Linked DNA regions of Homo sapiens: region 2 is linked to region 1. The links are contacts of gene promoters, found by promoter capture Hi-C in human tissues and cell types (Jung and others, 2019). All regions are on one chromosome and are shown on one strand. Each heading gives the region's core, a stretch centred on a gene start or on the middle of the fragment in contact. The rest is flanking DNA. Distances are from core to core; before and after follow the strand shown.

The links. Contacts are between HindIII fragments. The study calls those that stand out against the background at their distance.
Region 2: a contact is called between a fragment that was not itself captured here and the fragment with the promoter of RPL10L in region 1, in 2 of the 25 tissues and cell types used here (dorsolateral prefrontal cortex and spleen).

The regions. Positions count from the first base shown.
Region 1 is chr14:46,650,183-46,653,274 of GRCh38, forward strand. It overlaps RPL10L (ribosomal protein L10 like), which reads right to left and starts at 1,599. Exons shown (of 1, transcript NM_080746.3): 1 at 828-1,599. The coding sequence starts at 1,554. The coding sequence ends at 910. All of the region lies in intron 3 of LOC105370481 (a long non-coding RNA gene), which reads right to left. The HindIII fragment of the contact is 6,030 bases long and covers 1-3,092 here.
Region 2 is chr14:47,050,374-47,053,465 of GRCh38, forward strand. The region is part of intron 7 of MDGA2 (MAM domain containing glycosylphosphatidylinositol anchor 2); the gene reads right to left. Among named protein-coding and RNA genes, the nearest start is that of RPL10L, 400 kb to the left of the region's middle. The HindIII fragment of the contact is 3,925 bases long and covers 1-3,092 here.

The DNA of each region.
Region 1 (3,092 bases), core at 349-2,848:
CTGTTAGCAGGATTGAGATTCAAAAGGCTAAGTCAATTGTAAAGAACAAGAATTTTTTTTAATGCAGTACAAACTCAGGAATTTTAGCTTATGTAGTTTCAAAAATAAAACAAAAAGCACCTGTGTCATCAACGTAACTCTAATTCAGGGCAAGCACCTACAATTGCAAACTCTCTTTAGGGTCCTTTTATAGCACAGATAACCGATTTAGTGTCATTTTCTCTCTTCTTTTGGTTCTACTGGAGCCCAGATACAAGTAATATGAACTCTGTTGTCACCTATGACCTTTCTATGATGAAAAAAAGATTAGACTGTTATCTCTTGACTGTGAGACAATGTAAAGTTCGTCTGGAAAAGCCTTTCAGAGTGATACTCAATTGTCCTAAGGCTGATAATCAGACGTGTAAGGTAATTCTAAAAACAATGTACAGAAATTTATAGAAAAACATAAGGCAACCAAGTTTAGAAATAAATTACTTCCAAAGAGGCTGTGGGTGAAATATCACTAATGCCTACTATTATTTTCATCGCTACTGTTTAGTTTATATTCTATAAACAAATTTTTTCACTCAAATCTATTTTTTATTCAAGGAATGATAGCTGCATAACTTATGACTTTACTACAAACAAAACTTTCAACATATTGCTCTATACTCTCCTAAATTTAAAGTGTTTGCTTAAAACAGCTTTCTCTATAAATTGTATAGTTTTACTGAAGCAAGGAAGGTAACATTTGCCATTAAAACTGAATAAATAGAAAAAAATTCTCTAGTAGTCTATATTCTAAAACATTGGATATTTAAAAAATATTAAAACTTAATAAGGAGTTATTTTTTGCCAGTAAACAGAATTTATTAGTAAGCATAAGTCAGACCAGCATGGCCCAAGGAGACAGTACTGCCAAAACCTTCATGAGTGCAGAACCCGCCACTTGTCCAAGGGGCCATGACTGGGAACGTACTTGACTCCACAACCATCAGGGATGAGGCACTTCTTGGCCACCATGTCTTCAAATTCGTCAGCATTAAACTTCGTGAAGCCCCACTTCTTGGAGATATGAATCTTCTGGCGTCCAGGGAACTTGAACTTGGCCCTGCGCAAGGCTTCAATCACATGCTCCTCGTTCTGAAGCTTGGTGCGGATGGACATGATGACTTGACCAATGTGGACCCGGGCTACAGTACCCTGGGGTTTTCCAAAGGCACCTCGCATACCTGTCTGGAGCCTGTCAGCCCCAGCACAGGACAACATCTTGTTGATGCGGATGACATGGAAGGGATGGAGCCGCACTCGCATGTGAAAGCCATCTCTGCCACAACTTTTCACCATGTATTTGTTGGCACAAATACGGGCGGCCTCCAGGGCTTCAGAAGACAGCTGCTCATATTCATCAGACACCATGTGGCCACCGAGTGGGAACTCATCCACTTTTGCCTTCTTTCTACCCAGGTCAAAGATGCGGATCTTGGCATCAGGAACCCCTCGGCAGAAACGAGATTTTGGGTACGGCTTGTTCTTACAATACCGGTAACAGCGAGCTGGACGGCGCCCCATGGCGACACAGTAACGTCGGCGGTGCCTCGAAGTCAAAATGCGCTCTCTTAACTACGCCTGCGCGCATTTATATACGTTGCCCCTCGTCCCTCGCGGGAACCATAGAGTCCTGAGGCCGGAACCATAGAGTCCTGAGGAGGATGTGACGACTCTCTTTCAGGACGTCCCAACCAGAGACGCAGGGACGTCTGGCGCCTCAGCGCCTGCGCCAAGTGGCGCGCTTAAGGTGAGCAGAGTCAGCTGTGGGTAGACTCCCCCTGGCGGCCAGGGAAGGAATTGGGCCCCGCCCCAACTGCACAGCTGCTGCTTCCTTTCTGCTAGCCATCTTGGGCTAGGAACTCTTGCTTTCAGCTTTGCTTTAAGTATAAAAGAGGTTATTTCCAGGCAGGAGAATCTCTTGAGCTCAGGAGTTCGAGGCCAGCCTGGGCAATATAGTGAAATGCTGTCTCTACAAAAAAAAAAATATATATATATCAAATAGCTGGGCATGGTGGCACATGCTTGTAGTCCCAGCTACTCAGGAGGCTGAGGTGGGAGGATCGCCTGGGCCCTGCAGGCAGAAACTGCAGTGAGCTGAGATAGCACCACTGCACTCCAGCTTGAGTGACAGAGGGAGACCCTGTCTAAAGAAAAAGAAAAAAAGAAATCCTAGAATTTGAGAGGAAAAATCCTTCCAGTTATTCAACATGCTGTTTCCAGTTTGGTCAGTTCATTTTCCAGAGCTTGTATCTCACTGTCAGCATTTGTAGATCAATTGCTGTTTCTTGGGTTATGTGGCCACCTTCCCTGGATAAAGTGGTTTCTTGGCATGAGTGCTTTGATGAGACTCAGGAAGAGATGAGAGGAAGAGAAGAGAGAGGGATAAAGAGAAGATATCTGTTGTATCTGTAGCTTGGCAATTGTTTTATAAACATGAAACTTTGTTTTTTCTTTATTTGGCCTAAAGAAATGATTTTATTATCAAAATGATATATACAAAATTGAAACACCAACTAGATTTTTTTTAACTTAAGGCTATTTGCATTTTCAAATGTTAAAGCTGCTGAAACTATATAAAAGAGTAACAGTTTGTGTTTTAGTAATCTTTTGCCCCTGAGAATAAATTTAAACTTTTTTTCTTCTCAGAGTTTGTAAAAATATTATGACAGGGATCAGAGTGTAGGAAAGGAGGAAGAAGAGAGAGGAAAAGAAATTAATAGTTTACAAACCCTACTTGCATTTTTCTAGTTTTCTTTTTTGTTTTAATGTTGTTTCACAAATCCATTACATCATGGAACAAAATCCCCCCAATGTGAATATATTCTGTCAATACTCTTTGTTTTAAGGGAGAAAAATAACTCCTGCCCTTAAAGTGAGTGGATTTTTACAAAATACTAAAGATAAAACAATTAAATCTCCCAATGTAGAAAACTTTCTGACCTTTAAGAAAGCTTTCTCACTTCCCTTTTCTTCCTTCATTTCTTCTTTCCCCTTTTTCTCAACTAGTTCCTGTTTAACATATTGAGATAAAGTAGCTAATACCATGTTGCTCTCACCAA
Region 2 (3,092 bases), core at 431-2,930, 400 kb after region 1:
AAACACCTTAGATTTTCTGTCTACTTGTAACTTACTTTGAAATACTTCAGCATATGGCAACACTTTGTATCTTAAATTTGGTGTTGACATGGGTGTTCACAAAACTGCATGCTTACAATTTATGCATTTTTCTGTGTTTCTGTTATACACTGAAATAAGAGTTGAAAAAATAATTCACCATAAACAATGTGACCTTCATTTGTGTGCTGTAAATTTTATTGTATATACTAGTGATGCTGTTAATATAATGCTACTCATGTGTATCCACTCCAGTTGCAGTTAGATAGCAATTTAGAAACCCAAACCATGGGTCCACTGTTTTCAGGCAGCTAGGAGAAGGCAAGTATCATCTTGATCTGAACTAAAGAAATTTTAATGTAGCATGATGTTGAATATGGTCTTCCATGGTGAAATAAATACTATTAAAGATACTTGCATTGGTGAGAATAAGTAAGATCTCTCCCAACTTTTGGGAGCGGGATATGGGACTGGCAAGGAGACTCTAACATCCTAACACTTTTTGGAGTGGCATCCTTGGAATATGGCTCTGATAATCTTGTGCCCCATGATCAACAGAATAAGTCATCACATGATCCAACTAGAATGTTACCTGAATCACTTCTAGAATATTGCAACACCTGTCAACAATGACCATTTCTTGCAAGGCCTTTGTCAAAGGGATATGACTGAATATTTGAAATGCCTGAGATAATAAAGGGAAATATTCATTTAATCTAAGATTTTAAGGCATGCTGCAAGCTTTCATACTGGATTTGAAATCTGAGATTTCAAGGTCAAGTCAGGTGGAAGTGAACACAGTATATATGCTTCTGGGGTCTATTTCCTTCTCTATAAAATGAAAGGCATTAGGTCATCAATAAGCCCTCAGTATTTTAAATCCGTGCTAATAATTAAGACATGTAGGTTATCTTTTAAAATTGTTTTATGAAACAAATATGTGGAGACCTGTCCCAGTAATCTTTTATTTTCTTTTTAAATTAAGAATAGATATTTAGAACACACCACATGTTCCATAAAGGCACCATCAAAACCCAAATTCAAGTTTTTCTAAATTTTTCTCATCCCTTTTCCAAACCTCACTGATATCTAACAATGTTGAATGAAAAATAATCAAAAGATTATGAAAATTAGGTTCTTTTAAAACTGAAAAGATATTTATTGGCAAGCAGATTTGAGGGGAGAAGTTCTTTGCACTAATCATAGTTCTAGCTATTTGGAACCCTTGAAAGAAAGAGCTTTAAGACATTCCAACTGTAAAATGAAACTTAAACACACCACATACAAATTAAATCACTTTAATAACTGTTCTCTCTGTTGCTAAGAGGTCTAGAGTTCTAGAGCTTTCACTACCACATAGAAGAAAATGGTGATGAAACTGTTAGCCTGTGGATCCAATCATCATAAATACTGCTATTTAATTTTCTTTTTGCCAATTGTGAATGGTAGGTTAGTAGTGTCATCTGTGACCATAAAAATCTGAAGTGTGATCATAACTACATTAGTAGTGAACATACCATTTCCTATACCTCTATCTTCTCCTCTAATAAAAAACTTCAGGATTGGTCTTGGTATTATAGCCTTAAAATAATATGCTGTAATGTACATTCCATTGTTAACTATAAATCTGGTGGAAGCATTTATTCTTTATCAGCGAATGGAGATATCTGTCACAAGTGTTTCTTTAACTCTAATACATCATTACTCACTGTTATCATTTTAAATGCAAATTTTGAAGCTAAAAATTATTTTCAGCCCTCATTGGATTGGAGAATTTTATATCCAGTCGTTTAAAATTCAAATAGTTTCTATGTTCCCATTGCTTGCATTAGAAAAGAAAGAAGGGCACAGGAAGTATATATTGGGTATACTCTCTCATTTCTCTTTGATCTGCTCTTGCTTTCCTATCACCTGAGAATTTGAAAAAGTATTTAATATTATCAAATGAAGAAAGTCCCAAACACATGGGACAGTAATTAGACAAAAGCTAATTAAGCACTGTTAAATAATAAGTTGTAAAGTCAAACCTTTGTTCTGATATTTGGGGAAAATATTGGAGTATTTTCAGTTGATAATTGGAGGGAAATTATAAATCCAATGTTCTTTCCATAGTAATACAGATTCAATTTTATGTGAAAAATTCTAATAGAAAAACATGTTTAATGTTTACTGAACAATTACAGGAAATAATAGAATACTCTCCATTTTTATATTTATGTCCCTCAAAATATAACTAGTAAAATATTGATATAACTTATGCTTCTCAAAACAACTTGCAACTAACGATGTTTTAAATAATCCCTTTCACTCCTTTAAATGGTCTTCTTGAAAAGAGGATTCATATAATTGTCACCTTCTATGAGTGTCTATAATGCTACCTGTGGCTTGTTTAAGAAGATGCCGCATAATCTGAGGATGGATGTTCTTCATACCAAAATACTCTATTTAAACTCTGATGACCTCTTATCTTGACCTTCCCATTTTCCCCTCTCCTTTCCTCTCTTCCTCTTAATCCTCTGTCTCATTCTGTCGGTCTCTGTCACACTCCCTCACTCTTTCCATATTCAATCCTTTCACTTAAATGAAAATAAGAGCTCACTTCCATTATCAAAATTTATGCATCAATATTATGGTTTCTGGGACAAATACAATCATTCACATTTATTTTCATGCCGGTGAAGAAGTACTGAAGGCTGTGAAGATGCTCTAAATACAAAAAGCTTTCCACTGCATGGATATTCTTTTTTTCTACTCAAATTAGAGAGCTTATTTTCCTTGATTTCCATTGATCAGTCATTCTCATTTGCTTCACAGTTTCTTCTTTTTTTATCATCTCCTTGGACAGTAATAGCTTTGCTTCTTATTCTCTTCTTGGGTGAGCCCATCTGTTTCAAATTAATACAATTACTTGTGAAGTCTATGTTTTAGTTCTGACCTTTTCCTGATCATCAGAACTGATTTTCTAATTGCTCACCAGAAACATGAGGATGTTTCACCATCCCTTCAGCTACAACTAATCTCAAACCATTTTGTTCTCTCAAACCTTCTCACAAACATACATCCTTTATGTGACA